Linked DNA regions of Homo sapiens: region 2 is linked to region 1. The links are contacts of gene promoters, found by promoter capture Hi-C in human tissues and cell types (Jung and others, 2019). All regions are on one chromosome and are shown on one strand. Each heading gives the region's core, a stretch centred on a gene start or on the middle of the fragment in contact. The rest is flanking DNA. Distances are from core to core; before and after follow the strand shown. Region 1 has its middle 21 kb from the start of HOMER3. Region 2 holds the start of CRLF1 (cytokine receptor like factor 1).

Region 1 (7,404 bases), core at 667-3,166:
GTTCGAGACCAGCCTGGGCAACACAGCAAGATCCTGTCTCTACCAAAAAAAAGTTTTTGTTTTTGTTTTTGTTTTTTTGAGACAGAGTCTCACTCTGTCATCTAGGCTGGAGTGCAATGGCACAATCTTGGTTTACTGCAACCTCCGTCTCCCAGGTTCAAGCGATTCTCTCGCCTCTGCCTTATGAGTAGCTGGGACTACAGGCACGCACGACCATGTCCGACTAATTTTTGTATTTTTAGTAGAGACGGGGTTTCACCATGTTGGCCAGGCTGGTCTTGAACTCCCGACCTCAGGTGATTTCGCCCACCTCCTTGGCCTCCCAAAGTGCTGGGATTGATTACACACGTTTCCAAACAGTGGATCCCACAAGAAAAGAAGGTGTCATCGTAGGTGACAGAATGGAGGTCCCTGTCTGAGGGAGGGACCGCTGAGCCTCAAGTGAGTAGGCTACAAGGCTGGCAGGGAGGTCACCCCATCCTATGGCCTAAGATTGTCCCCAAACATAAAGCTTGAACCCTGAGGCCCCTTGATTGGTTTCCTTGGTCCTTGGCCAGCATTTAAACTCTCCTTTTTTTAAATTTCTTGAGACAGTTTCTCACTCCGTCACCCAGGCTAGAGTGCAGGGCACAATCTCGGCTCACTGCAACCTCTGCCTGTTGGGTTCAAGTGATTCTCCTGTCTCAGCCCCCATGAGTAGCTGGGGCTACAGACATGCGCCACCATGCCCTGCTAATTTTTGTATTTTTAGTAGTAACAGGGTTTCACCATGTTGATCAGGCTGGTCTTGAACTCCTGACCTCAAGTGATCCACCTGCCTCGGCCTCTCAAAGGTGCTGGGATTACAAGGGTGAGCCACCGTGCCCAGCCTACACTCTCTTGACAAAGGTTTTTATAAATCCCAATTTGGCTGGGTGCCGTGGCTCATGCTTGTAATCCCAGTACTTTGGGAGGCTGGGGCCAGGGGATCACTTGAGCCCAGGAGATTGAGACCAGTCTGGGGCAACATGGCAAAACCCATCTCTACAAAAAATAAAATAAAATTAGCCAGGCATGGTGGTGCATGCCTGTGGTCCAAGCTTCTTAGGAGGCTGATGTGGGAGGATCGCTTGAGCCCAGGAATTAGAGGCTGCAGTGAGCCATGATTGTGCCACTGTACTCCAGCCTGGGTGACACAGTGAGACCCTGTCTCGGAAAATAAATAAATAAAAGACTGTCTGGGCCAGGTGCCGAGGCTCACGCCTGTAATCCCAGCACTTTGGGAGGCTGAGGCGGGCAGATTGCTTGAGCCTGGTAGTTTGAGACCAGACTGGCCATCATAGTGAAATCCCATCTCTACTAAAAATAAAAAAATTAGTTGGGTGTGGTGGCGCACACCGATAGTCCCAGCTACTTGGGAGACTAAGGTGGGAGAATCACTTGAGCCTGGGATCAAGGCTGCAGTGAGCCGTGATCAACCTCTGCACTCCAGCCTGTGTGACAGAGTGAGGCTCTGTTTCAAAACACCACCAATGACAAGAAAACCCATGACCGTCCGGGCGCGGTGGCTCGTGCCTGTAATCCCAGCACTTTGTGAGGCCGAGGTGGATGGATCCTGAGATCAGGGGTTTGAGACCAGCCTGGCCAACATGGTGAAACCCCATCACCACTAAAGATACAAAAAATTAGTCGGGCGTGGTGGCACGTACCTGAAATCCCAGCTACGTAGGAGGCTGAGGTAGGAGAATCGCTTGAACCCGGGAGGTGGAGGTTGCAGTGAGCCGAGATCGTGCCATTGCACTCTAGTCTGGGCAACAGAGCAAGACTCCGTCTCAAAAAAAAAAAAAAAAAGAAAATCCATGAGCACTCAGACCTGCAGCCAGTGAAGGCAAGGTAGAGATGGGACCCCACCCTTCAGCCTGTGTCTTACATTTTTAGGGGGCTAATTTAATTTAGAATGTCCAGCAGGGAAGTGTGTCTAGCTGTCCAGTGAGGGGAGCCTCAAGCTATCTTCCCACCTCAGCCTCCCAAACCACTGGGATTACAGGCATGAGTCACTGTACCTGGCCTGAAGGTCCCTTTTACAGATAAGAAAACTGAGGTTCAGGGCCGGCTTCTGCCCCTGCCCAACCTGCTGGCTTCTTCCTCAGCCAGCCCTCTCCAACTACTGCCTATTTCTTTTTTTCTTTCTTTCTCTTTTTTTGAGACGGAGTCTCGCTCTGTCAACAAGGCTGGAGTGCAATGGCATGATCTCGGCTTACTGCAACCTCTGCCTCCCAGGTTCAAGTGATTCTCCTGCCTCAGCCTCCTGAGTAGCTGGGATTACAGGCATGCACCACCATGCCCGCATAATTTTTTTTTTTTTTTTTTTTTGAGACGGAGTCTCGCTCTGTCTCCCAAGCTGGAGTGCAGTGGCGCGATCTCGGCTCACTGCAAGCTCCGCCTCCCGGGTTCACGCCATTCTCCTGCCTCAGCCTCCCGAGTAGCTGGGGCTACAGGCGCCCGCCACCACACCGGGCTAATTTTGTTTTTGTATTTTTAGTAGAGACGGGGTTTCACCGTGTTAGCCAGGATGGTCTTGATCTCCTGACCTCGTGATCCGCCCGCCTTGGCCTCCCAAAGTGCTGGGATTACAGGCGTGAGCCACAGCGCCCGGCTCTTTTTTTTTTTTTTTTTGAGACAGAGTCTCACTGTTGCCCAGGCTGGAGTGCAGTTGCGCCATCTCGGCTCACTGCAACCTCCGCCTCCTGAGTTCAAGCGATTCTCCTGCCTTGGCCTCCCTAGTAGGTGGGATTACAGGCGTGCACAACCATGCCCTGTTAATGTTTGTATTTTTAGTAGAGACGGGATTTCACCATGTTGGCCAGGCTGGTCTCGAACTCCTGACCTCAGGTGATCCACCCGCCTCAGCCTCCCAAAGTGTTGGAATTACAAGTGTGAGCCATCATGGCCAGCCACTACTGCCTATTTCTGCATCTCCTGTTCCAGACAAACGGAAGAAACAAGGCCATTTATTGAGCGCCGGTGATATGCTGAGCGCTCAACCTGCATCCTCAAAGATCGTCGATCCAACAGCCTGCTAGGAGTGGATCAATCGAGTCACAGAGGGGGCTCGACCCCCACTCACTGTAGAGAGGGGAAAGCTGAGGTTCAGAGGTGAAACGATACTCCCGGGGTCACACGGCAAGGACATGTAGGGGCAGGTTTTGGGACGAGGCTATTCCTGCATCCACGGTATAGAAAGAAGGCGGGGCGCAAAGGTCAGCCGGTGCTAGGGACCAGACAGCGGCCCATAGGGAGGAGTGGACTTGGGTCCAGGATGCGCCTGATGGGGCGGGGCTATCTTTATTGGGTGGGCAGTGCAGGACCAGGCTGCCCCATCAGGTGGAAGCGGGGCGAAGTGCACCTGTGCAGAGGGTTTGGGGGCGTGGCTAGAGGCTGAGATGCGCCGGGTGGGCTGGGGCTGGGGCTGGGGCTGGGCGGAGCGGGCGGCTCAGCACTGCAGCGGAAGAGCTTTCTTGCTACACGCAGTTGAGGCTAAGCTACCAGCAGGATGAAAGGATCCTGCTGTGGGTGATCGTGCACAAATAAGGCTGCGAGGTCACGTCGTCCATGCACTGAGAGAAACGAGAGGACCCCCGGCCTCAGCTCCTAGTCCAGCAAATGGAGGCACCATCCTTGACTCCTGTCTGTGCCTGTCTGCGCCTCAGCAAGCCTCAGTCTCCATATCTGTCGAATGGGCATGCCATCCCCGAGATGGAAGGGACCTTTTGTGCACCAGAGCTGGTCCCTTCCTTGTGCCCCCACAGCCTCAGAATAAAGCCAAACACCTCACCTGTCCACCCTCAACTCCCTCCACCATCCCCCTTATTCACTGTACTCCAGCCACAGGCTTCCCAGTTGGTCTTTGCACAGGGCAACAACATTACCGCCCCAGAGCCTTTGCATATGCTATCTGAGCCGCCTACTCTCAGTTCTTCCCTATGACTAACTGCTCCTTTAGGAGTCGACTAAATGCTACCATCCTGGCCAAAATAGCCTCCCCTCTCTGCAGTTTCAAATCCATGGAGGGAGTGGATTTTGGGCTAACTGGATACTACTACAAAAAATATACATATATATGCCCGGTGCAGTGGCTCACGCCTGTAATCCCAGCACTTTGGGAGGCCGAAGCAGGCGAATCACCTGAGGTCAGGAGTTCGAGACCCATCTGGCCAACATGGCAAAACCCCATCTCTACTAAAAATACAAATAAATTAGCCGGCTATGGTGGCACACGCCTGTAATCCCAGCTACTTGGGAGGCTGAGGCAGGGGAATCGCTTGAACCGGCGAGGCGGAGGTTGCAATGAGCCAAGATCGCGCCACTGCACTCTCTGGGGGATAGAGCGAGACTCTGTCTCCAAAAAAATAAAATAATAATTCCAAATGGACCTGAGATGTGAATATGCACCCTGCGAACACTAGAAGAGGCTATGTGCAGCCAGGTGTAGTGGCGCATGCCTGTAATCCTAGCATTTTGGGAGACTGAGGCAGGTGGATCACCTGAGGTCAGGAGTTCGAGACCAGCCTGGCCAACATGGTGAAACACTGTCTCTACTAAAAATACAAAAACTTAGCCGGTCATGATGGCAGGTGCCTGTAATCCCAGCTACTCCAGAGGCTGACCCAGAAGAATTGCTTGAACCCGGGAGGCAGAGGTTGCAGTGAGCCGAGGTCGTGCCACTGTACCCCAGCCTGGGCAACAAGAGCAAAACTCCGTCTCAAAAAAGAATAATAATAATAAGAGGGTATGTGTGCATTTCTGTAAGGTCTGGGAAGGGAAAGAGCTTTCATAATGATCAATCAGAGCCCAGGAGCAACAATGGGAAGGACGTGTGTATTCATACATGTATGTGTGTGTGTAAGAGTAAAATAGGCCGGGTGCGGTGGCTCATGCCTGTAATCCCAGCACTTTGGGAGGCCGAGGCAGGCAGATCACTTGAGGTCAGGAGTTCGAGACCAGCCTGGCCAACATGGTAAACCCTGTGTCTACTAAAAATACAAAAATTAGCCAGGCATGATGGTGCGTGCCTGTAATCCCAGGCACTCAGGAGGCTGAGGCATGAGAATCACTTGAACCCAGGAGGCGGAGGTTTCAGTGAGCCGAGATCACGCCATTGCACTCCAGCCTGGGGGTCACAGCGAGACTCTGTCTAAAATACAAAAAACAAAAAAAGAGTAAAATAAAACCTTTGGCCAGGCACAGTGGCTCATGCCTGAAATCCCAAAGCCTTTGAAGGCTGAGGCAAGAGGATCACTTGAGGCCAGGAGTTCGAGATGAACCTGGGCAATATAGCAAGACTCTGTCTCTACAAAAAATAAAAAATTAACTAGGCACATTGGTACGTGCCTGTAGTCCCAGCTATGCGTGAAGCTGAGGTAGGAGGATCACTTGAGCCCAGGAGTTTGAGGTTACAGTGAGCTGTGATTGTGCCACTGCAACTGCACTCCAGCCTGGGAGACAGAGTGAGAACCTGTCTCAAAATAATAATAATAGGCCAGGCCTGGTGGCTCACGACTGTAATCCCAGAACTTTGGGAGGTTGAGGTGGGCGGATCATGAGGTCAGGAGTTCAACACCAGCCTGGCAAACATGGTGAAACCCAGTCTCTACTGAAAATACAAAAATTAGCCAGGCGTGGTGGCGGGTGCCTGTAACCCCATCTACTGGGGAGGCTGAGGCAGGAGAATCGTTTGAACCCGGGAGGCAGAGGTTGCAGTGAGATGACATCACGCCATTGCACTTCAGCCTGGGCGATAAGAGCGAGACTCCGTCTCAAAAAACAAAAAACAACACCAAAACAACAAACAACAACAACAACAACAACAAAATAATAATAATAATAATAATGCATTGAACAATGATCATGAGTTTTAAAAAATGAAAAAAACCAAAACAAAACAATGAGCTGGGGCCAGGTGCTGTGGCTCATACCTATAATCCCAGCACTTTGGGAGGTTGTGGTCGTGATACAGGAGATAGAAATTATTTTGGCAGACAGTGAGGGTAAAAGAGTCCTGGGAATTTCTCTTTTAACAAAAAGCAGCCCCCCAAATCATTTCTTTCTTTTTTTAATTTTTATTTTTTGAGACGGAGTTTCGTTCTTGTCACCCAGGCTGTAGTGCAGTGGCACGATCTTGGCTCACTGCAACCTCTGCCTCCCTGGTTCAAGCAATTCTGTCTCAGCCTCCCGAGTAGCTGGGATTACAGGCGTGTGCCACCATGCCCGGCTAATTTTTGTATTTTTAGTAGAGACGGGGTTTCACCATGTTGGCCAGGCTGGTCTCAAACTACTGACTTCAGGCGATCCACCCACCTCGGCCTCCCAAAGTGCTGGGATTACAGGCGTGAGACACTGTGCCCGGCCTTCTTTTACGAGATGGAGTCTCACTCTGTCGCCCAGGCTGGAGTGGAGTGGTGCAATCTCGGCTCACTGATACCTCTGCCTCCCAGGTTCACGCTACTCTCCTGCCTCAGCCTCCCAAGTAGCTAGGATTACAGGCATGTGCCACCATGCCCAGCTAATTTTGGTATTTTTAGTAGAGATGGGGTTTCACTATGTTGGCCAGGCTGGTCTTCAACTCCTGACCTTGTGATTCACCCACCTCGGCCTCCCAAAGTTTTGGGATTACAGGCGTGAGCCACCGTGCCCAGCCGCAACTCATTTCTTTTTTCTTTTCTTTTTTTCTTTTTTTTTTGAGACAGAGTTTAGCTCTTTTTGCCCAGGCTGGATTGCAACGGCGCGAGCTTGGCTCACCGCAACCTCCGCCTCCCGGCTTCAAGCGATTCTCCTGCCTCAGCCTCCCGAGCAGCTGGGATTACAGGTGCCTGCCACCACACCCGGCTAATTTTTTGTATTTTTAGCAGAGACAGAGTTTCACCATGTTGGCCAGGATGGTCTCGATCTCTTGACCTCGTGATCTGCCCACCTTGGCCTCCCAAAGTGCTGGGATTACAGGAGTGAGCCACAGCGCCCGGCCAACTCATTTCTTTTCTAACAAAAAACAGCCTGAAAAATCGAGCTGCAGACATGGATAAGCAAGTGGGAAGCTTCCAGGGGTGAATACCAGCAGCTGTGTCAATGGAAAAGGGCCACCTGAGGGCCTGGCATGTTCAACATGGGGGCTCCAGCTTCCCTTTTTTTTGGTCACTACGTGTACAGTAAAGAAACAGGTTTTAGTTTGGCTGGGCACGGTGGCTCATGCCTGAAATCCCAGCACTTTGGGAGGCTGAGGCAGGTGGATCACCTGAGGTCAGGAGTTCGAGACCAGCCTGGCCAACATGGCGAAACCCCGTCTCTACTAAAAATACAAAAATTAGCCAGGCATGGTGGTGGGCGCCTATAATCTCAGCTACTCAGGAAGCTGAGGCAGGAGAATCGCGG
Region 2 (7,525 bases), core at 4,387-6,886, 350 kb before region 1:
TGTGGGTTCTTCCTGTGATGCTCCCAGAGCCTCACACATAGTAGGTGTTTCTGTGGGGGAAGGGCACTGCTTAAAATGAAAGCCCTGACCCTTACTTGAATCATTAAGAGCACCATGTTTTTTTTTTTTTTGAGACGGAGTTTTGCTCTTGTTGCCCAGGCTGGAGTGCAATGGCACGATCTCGGCTCACCGCAATCTCCGCCTCCCAGGTTCAAGTGATTCTCCTGCGTCAGCCTCCCGAGTAGCTGGGATTACAGGCACACATCACCGTGCCCGGCTAATTTTTGTATTTTTAGTAGAGATGTGGTTTCACCGTGCTGGTCAGGCTGGTTTCGAACTCCTGACCTTGTGATCCGCCTGCCTCAGCCTCCCAAAGTGCTGGGATTACAGGGGTGAACCACCGCGCCCAGCCTGTATTTTTAGTAGAGTCCAAGAATCGCCATGTTGGCCAGGCTGGTCTCGAACTCCTGACATCAAGTGATCCACTCGCCTCAGCCTCCCGAAGTGCTGGGATGACAGGCGTGAGTCATTGCGCCTGGCCTAACAGCACCATTTATTGAGCACTTGTTGTGTTCTGAATACTGGGCTAAGACTACCTACATTTTCTCGGCCAATCCTGCTTATATGTTAAAGATGAAAAAACTCCGGCTCTGAAAGATGGAGTTTCCTTGCTGGAATGAGGGAAGGCCATACTAGTTAGGCCCAGATTTTCTGGTCTCCAAAGTTCTGTTCCACACTGCCTACCTCTGGAACTAAAGGCAGCCCTGGCAAACTGCACGTCCCCAACTCCCATCCAAAGGGACTTGACATCATCGCTGTTTCCCTCCACTCAGTTTTCCTCATCTGCAAAGTGAGAACGAGAAAGCTCTTTGTCTCCTGGGGTATTGTGAAAGTCAGAGGGGAAAGGACTTCCTGAACCAGGTTGTGTGTGAGTCAGGTACTAGGCACAGGAAACTTGGGGACGCCCATGGGTGGTTGATGCCTCTCTCTCCTGCTGGCCATCAGGGCAGCCCAGGAGTTCCCCTTCTGGAGACCAGAACCTTGTCCATAGGGAAACCAAGGCCCAGAGGAGGAGGGGGTGCACAGGCCAACCTCCCAATGCCTCTCTGAGTCTCAGTTTCCCCATCTGGAAAGTGGACATCATGGCGTCAATGTCATGGGGTTGGCTGGGTGCGGTGGCTCATGCCTGTAATCCCAGCACTTTGAGAGGCTGAGGTGGGAGGATCACGTGAGGTCAAGAGTTTGAGACAGCCTGGGCAACATGGTGAAACCCTGTCTCTACCAAAAATACAAAAATTAGCCAGGTGGGGAGGGGGTGGTGGCCCCATGCCTGTGGTCTTAGCTACTTGGGAGGCTGAGGCAGGAGGATCGCTGGAGCCCGGGAAGTTGAGGCTGCAGTGAGCCATGACTGCACCACTGCACTCCAGCCTGGGTGACAGTGAGACCCTGTCTCAAAAAAGAAATAAAAAATTTAGATTTAAATTTATAAAAACCAACAAAACAAACCTCATGAGGTTGTTTGAGAGGAGTGAAAATATTGTTGGAGACAATATTTTCCCATGAGATCTTTAAACCAAGTTGACCTGGACTCGAATGCCCCCAGCCTGACTCAGTGTTCTACTTTTTTTTTTTTTTGAGACAGAGTCTCACTCTGTCACCCAGGCTGGAGTGCAGTGGCACAATCTCGGCTCACCATAACCTCCACACCCAGCTAATTTTTGTATTTTTAGGAGAGACGGAGTTTCGCCATGTTGGCCAGGCTGGTCTCGAACTCTTGACCTCCAGTGATCCACCCGCCTTGGCCTCCCAAAGTGCTGGGATGACAGGCGTGAGCCACTGCACCCGGCCTCAGTGTTTTACTTCTTTGAGCCTCTGGAAAGGGGCTTCTCGTTCCACACAGAGTGGTTGTAAAGACTCATCCACGCCTTTGTTCGTTCACGCGTTCATCTATTCATTCACAGGGTACCTATAGTGTGTCCGGATCTGTGGGCACTGGGGTGATGCCCAAGACACACAAAAGTCCTGCCCTTGTGGGCATCAAATCCAAGGAAGCAGCAGGAAAAAGGAATAAATAAATATCTAAGACAATAACTAGGGGAGAAAGTAAAGCAGGGGCTGGAGGAAGACAGAGCAGCGGCAGAAGCTTGGGAGGCCTGTCTGGGGAGGTGACCTTTGAGCAGAGACCTGAATAAAGTAAGAGAAGTAGCTGTGACATTATCTAACAGAGCATGTCCAGGCAGTGGGAGCTGCAAGTGCCAAGGTCCTGGGGCAGAAGCGGTGGGAAATGAGGTTTGAGAGGTCAGAGACCCTGACCTGCAGGGAGGAGGGATTCCAGGGTTCTCAGCCGGGGAGGGAGGGATGCGGTGAGATATGCGTTAAAAGGACTCCCCAGGCGGCTGGAAGAAGGGACTGCAGGAGGCAGGGGCAGCCCAGCTTCGCAGAGATGGCAGCCAAGGACAGGGTGATCCTGGCCCCCAGGGAGGCCCCCTGAATGCCAGCGCTGCCCTGCACTTGCCCTCACTGCCCCAGATGGGCGAGGTGGGGTGGACACGGTTCTTGGGCCGGCCCTGATGATTTTCCGGGGCAAACTTGGCTCGAGGGCTCTGTCTCGCTGGAGCCTGGAATCGCAGTTGCGCTTGGGGCTTGGCCCAGGGCTCGCCGGAGGTCTCCGCGTCCGTGCGAAGGAGCCGGCTGAGCGGGCCAGAGCCGAGGAGGCGGGGGCGGCCGAGGGGGGCGGGGGGCTGGGGGCCAGGGGACCGCCCTGGAGGTCCCAGGCAGCCAGCCGCCCGCTAATTCGGAATTCCTTTTGCATGAACTCGGGTGTGCCAGCGTCTCTGCCCCGGCCCACCCACCGCTTCCTGCCTGGGCCCCCCCAACAGAGTGGGAGGCACGGCCAGGCCTGCCCAGACCCCAGGCCCCTCTCAGCCCTTCTAGAGTGGGTCTCACTCCTCCTGCCCCCACCACCCGCCAGCTTGGCCTGGGCAGGAAGGGGCTCTCTGGGGGGTCCTGGCTGGGGGGCGCTGCCCCTCTGCCACACCCGCCTGGCCTGGGCCGGCGTGGCTCACTTGCCAGCAGCTGCAGCTGCCCTCCCGGGGCTGGGCGGGGGACACCGGGCGGCGACGGGTTGTAGGGGGAAGGCAAGGCCAGGCGGGCCTGGACAGACCAATCTCCCACCCCCTTAGCCCCAGCCGGTAAGGTCAGAAGGACACTTTCTCCTCCCGGGATATGGGCGCAACACCAGTGGGAGAACCTGGCCAATTGACTTCCCCTCTCCAGTTCTCAATTTTCTCCTCCATAAAATGGGAGGAGAAATACGTTCTACTTGCTGGGGAGATCAATGAGATGTGATTGCAATCCAATGTCCAGAGGGCTCAGAAGCCTGAAGCCCCCAGGAGCTGCAAAGATGACAGCCCCTCCCAGCTCTGGGGTCCCGGCTGACTAGGCACTCCCTCCAGGCCTCCACAAACAATGGGCTAAGGCGCTGGGGACAGAGATGCACGCACTCCAGGCCAGGCAGGGGAGCAGCTGGGAACAGCCCACTGAGCCGGAGTTGGTGGGGGCTTGGCTTGGTTTGGAGGGCCTCCTAGGGCTCCCCAAAGCAGATCCCTAGGTTGGGCTTTTGAACAGCTCCCTTTTCACTCCCTGCCTCCCCTCCTTTCCCGCAGAGCTGGGGCCTTTAAAAGTTTTTTCTCTCCTCTTTTCCCAATCTGGAGCCACTGCCGTTATTAAAAAGGAACACCATGTGTTTTAAAAGGGAAAAGTGTGAGATTCTCTGCAAGCAGGGCGGAAGGGTGGCCTCCATCCCAGGGTCCCCACGGGGGTCCCCATCTCCCGTCCCGCTGGTACCTGCAGACACTTTACGACCCACCCGCCTGCTGGTCAGGTGCTAAGACACACCGTAAGTAGAAACATATTGCCGAGGTGTGAGAATCTTTTATTTAATTTCTTCCCCCCTTAAAGGAAAAAACACACTTACAGTGCCCCCCCACCCCCTACACCTTCGCCTGCTGCTCTACTGGCTGAAAACAAAGCTTGGCGCTCACAGTGGCACTCACAGGCGCTGCCCACCGCCTGGCAGAGCCGTCAGGGGCCCTGGGAGGGCCCGAGGTAGCCCCTCACCTGAAAGCCAGGGGAGAGCCAGGCTTTCAGCAAGTGCCCCTAGAAGATGCCCGGACCCTGCCCCTTCCCGGAGGAGCCCTACAGGCAGCCCGCAAACAGCCCAGCACAGGGTGGATGAGCCTGGGAGCAGTGTGTGCCCGGCGACCCCCGGGGTGGCCCGTGCGCCTGGATGGGGTGCGTGGAGTGACTGAACATCTGGGGCGAGTGGTGCCTGCCTCTGTGCCCCTGGGTCGCCTCCCCTGTGGGATGTGTGTGACCGTGAATGTGTGTGTCGGGGATGGAATGTGTGTGCGTCCGCGATGGTGCGCGAATGTGCACCTGGGATGCAGTGTGCGCGAGTTTGAGGGCGAGGGTGACGGGCCACAAGCCAGTGTGATTCTTTGTGTGTCTCTGGGTGTGTCCCAGAGCGGGTCTGCATACGGAGACGTATCCTTGCGGGGGTGTTCCTTGGATGGGGGGCCCCAGAGTGCCTGAGGCCAGAAGTCCCTCCAGGGCAGGGGTCTTGGCCCGTAGGGCAGCGGGTTCCCAGTGGGCCCCCTCAAAGTTTGGGCCCGCTGGTGCCCGGACTCACTGGCTCCCGCTCCCTCTCCCTCTCACCCACTCGCTCACAAAGATTCCTCTCGCTGGAGGCTCTCCGCCCGACGCAGCCTGGCTGAAAACGGTTCTAAGCGCCGCCGGTGGCGGGGACTCCGCGGACCCCCGTGCGCCGGGTCCCGCAGGGGGAGGGCGGTGGCGCCGGCCCGTGGAGACACAAGTCCCCCGGGACCCCGGGCTGCGCGCCAGGCGGCCAGAGCGGCCCCCCTGCAGCCCCGCCCTCCCCGTGGGGCTCATCCCTCCGCCTGGGGGGGCCCGCTGGGGGCCCGCACCCAGCGCGCCAACCGCGTGCGCCCCCGCCTGGGAGCGGTGCCCTGCAGTCCCAGGGGCCCAGAGTCCACCGAAGCAGACGCGTGCGCCCGCCACGTCCTGGCATGCAGAGGGTCTCAGGCCGCGATCCCCCCAGCCCCCGGGGGCCTGGCCTGGCGCCCTCGGCCCAGCTGCCCAGGTAACAGGGCCTCGGGCGCGGAAGCAGGACTCTCTGGACAGTGGACTGCGGCGCCGTGTGCCCCGCAGGTGAGGGCGCCCCGAGGGCTGCGCCGGGGGCGCCTTCCTTTGTTCCCCGGCCGTCCAGGTGGCGCCCGCGCCCCCTCCCCCCGCGGCTGCCCCCGGGGCGCCCGCCCTCTGCTCTGGCAGGGGGGAAGGAGTGGGGCGCCGGGTACTCACGGGCTCCTGATCCGGCTCGCGGCGCCCCGAGGACGCAGAGCAGCAGCAGCAGGGGCAGCAACGGCGGCGGCCGCCGCGCGGATTGGGCGGCGGGGCCCCGGCGGCCGGCGGGCATGGGGCCGGCGCTGCCGGGGGCGCGCGGCGGGCTGCGGCTCGGCGGCGGTGGCGCAGGGCGCGGGACGCAGGCCGGGCGCGGGAGGGCGCGGGCCAGGCCGCCCGCACGTCGCTGGGCGCGGACGCGGAGGCCGGAGCAAGTCTGAGCAGCCGAATTGACAAGGCGCTAATGCGCCGCTGGCCCCGCCCGGCCCCGCCCCCGGCCCGGCCCGGCCCCGGGGGGGCGGCGGGCCCCGCACCGGCCTCCCCGCCGCCCGCCCGCCCGCGGGCACCGCGCGCCCCGCCCGTCCCGCCTCCGCCCCACCGAGAACCGCGCGCGCCCTATCCCGCGGCCCAAAGCCCCCTAACTCAACCCCTACCGGCCCAGGACCTCCCTCTCCAACCCTGCCAGCTCCAGGCTTCCCACCCCCAGTCTGGGACCCGGCACCCCCAATCCCGTTTCCATAACCCTGCCCACTTCCCTGCACCCTCCTCTCAGCCCAGTGCCTCTTCAGTGGCCCCTTTGGTCCCCAACCCTGCCCCACTCCTCCATTCCCCCTTCCACGGCCCAATCTTCTGTCTCGGCCCCCACCCCAGCTCTGGCCCCGCCCCCCCCACCGAGCGGTCCTTGAGTCCCGCCTACCCCCATCTCCAGCCCCTCAGCCTTCCCAGGGGCCTAAAAGTCACCCCCAGCCCCACGCCCTCGGCGCGCGGGTTCCAGCCCTCCCACCTCATCCTGCCTCTTTTCGATTCTCCGCGAGTAGCCTCGGCCCCAGGCTTTGCTGGAAGAAAGGAGAAAAAGCAGGAAGGCACGGAGTCCCTCGCCTTCGCCCTGGCTGCGCTGTCCCCTTCGCGCGCGGGATGGGTTTGAGGTTGCTCTGGGCGCCCCGGGGGCCTCGGGAGGGAGCTCCTGCGTGGGCAGACGGGGAGATGTAGTCCCCTGTGGGAGCCGGGACCCAGGCCTGCGCGGGAACTGGGTCCCGCACCGCAGTAAGAGGGATTCCCAGGAGGAGAGCGGTAAGAAGCTCTTTCCCCGGGACCTATTCACACCCCGCCACGGAAAAATCCACTCAGCGGCCCGCGGGTGGGGTGCGCCACGCGGTGAGTAATCGCTTCGGCGGCCACCGCCCGCCGACTCCAGGTAACGCCGGCTGCCCGGAGCGACGCATAGTTTGTCTTCCTTCTTTTGCGCAAAGAGCCTTCTCCGTGTTATTATTTTTGGCCATTGCTCGAGTTTCGGGACCCCTCCCGGTCCGGGCGTCTCATCTCCCTCCTCCCGGTCCCCACCCGATGCGGGCGCCCAGGAATAAAGGGTTCCTGGCCTCCAAGGCTGCTGCGGATGGGGGTGCCTGAAATGAGAGTTGGGGGGTGCAATTACCCACTTTTGGTCGCAGCCCCGCCCCCAGCTGCAGCGCCCAGGGAAGGGAACGGCTCCAAGTCCCCTTTTCCAGGAGTCCCTTAGAGGCCTGGATTCTCTCTCCTGGTCCCCAACCAGCCAAGGGGGTAAAAGTGTCTGAGGGGGGCTCAGGAGCCCCCATTTGTCTGCCCAAGACTGAAGCCCCACCCTCTCCTACTTAAATCTCCAGTTCAGACTCCAGACTGTCAAAAAACAAGATTGGGGGATGGGAGCCTATAGGGGCCCAGGGCGCCCCTGCTCCATCTGAATTCTGGATGGAGAAGACAGACAAGGAGAGACGCTGCCATTTACTTCGGGAAACCAGGCCTTTTGTGCCTCAGTTTCTTCCTCTGCACAGTGGGCACCACCCAGTCTAGGAGCTTCTGTGGGAAGACGCAGGGCAGCAGAAGTCTCTACAATCCAAGCCCTTAGCACAGCACTGGAGGATATCCTGGAGCAGAGGTGACCCCCAGCCCTGCTTGTCCCCTCTGAAACATGGAGCCATAGTCCCACCTGCCAGGGGACCCAGAGGGTTAAGTGGAGGTGGCAGTCCTTGGCTGGAATTGAGTTTTTAGGATACTCACCACTACTCCCCCATGGCTCCTGTCTGCAGATGCTCTCTGTGTGGATAGAGACGCCTCACTCCCTCCTGGGAGG

Evidence for each region. The method cuts DNA at HindIII sites, captures the fragments that hold promoters and counts their contacts. A contact is called where the count stands out against the background at its distance.
Region 2: the fragment with the promoter of CRLF1 here is called in contact with a fragment that was not itself captured in region 1 in 2 of the 25 tissues and cell types used here (dorsolateral prefrontal cortex and lymphoblastoid cells).

The regions. Positions count from the first base shown.
Region 1 is chr19:18,958,507-18,965,910 of GRCh38, forward strand. No RefSeq gene overlaps it. Among named protein-coding and RNA genes, the nearest start is that of HOMER3, 21 kb to the left of the region's middle. The HindIII fragment of the contact is 4,315 bases long and covers 1-4,074 here.
Region 2 is chr19:18,601,163-18,608,687 of GRCh38, forward strand. CRLF1 (cytokine receptor like factor 1) reads right to left here and starts at 5,637. Exons shown (of 9, transcript NM_004750.5): 1 at 5,380-5,637. The coding sequence starts at 5,494. RefSeq lists an enhancer at 4,759-5,677. The HindIII fragment of the contact is 9,492 bases long and covers 3,088-7,525 here.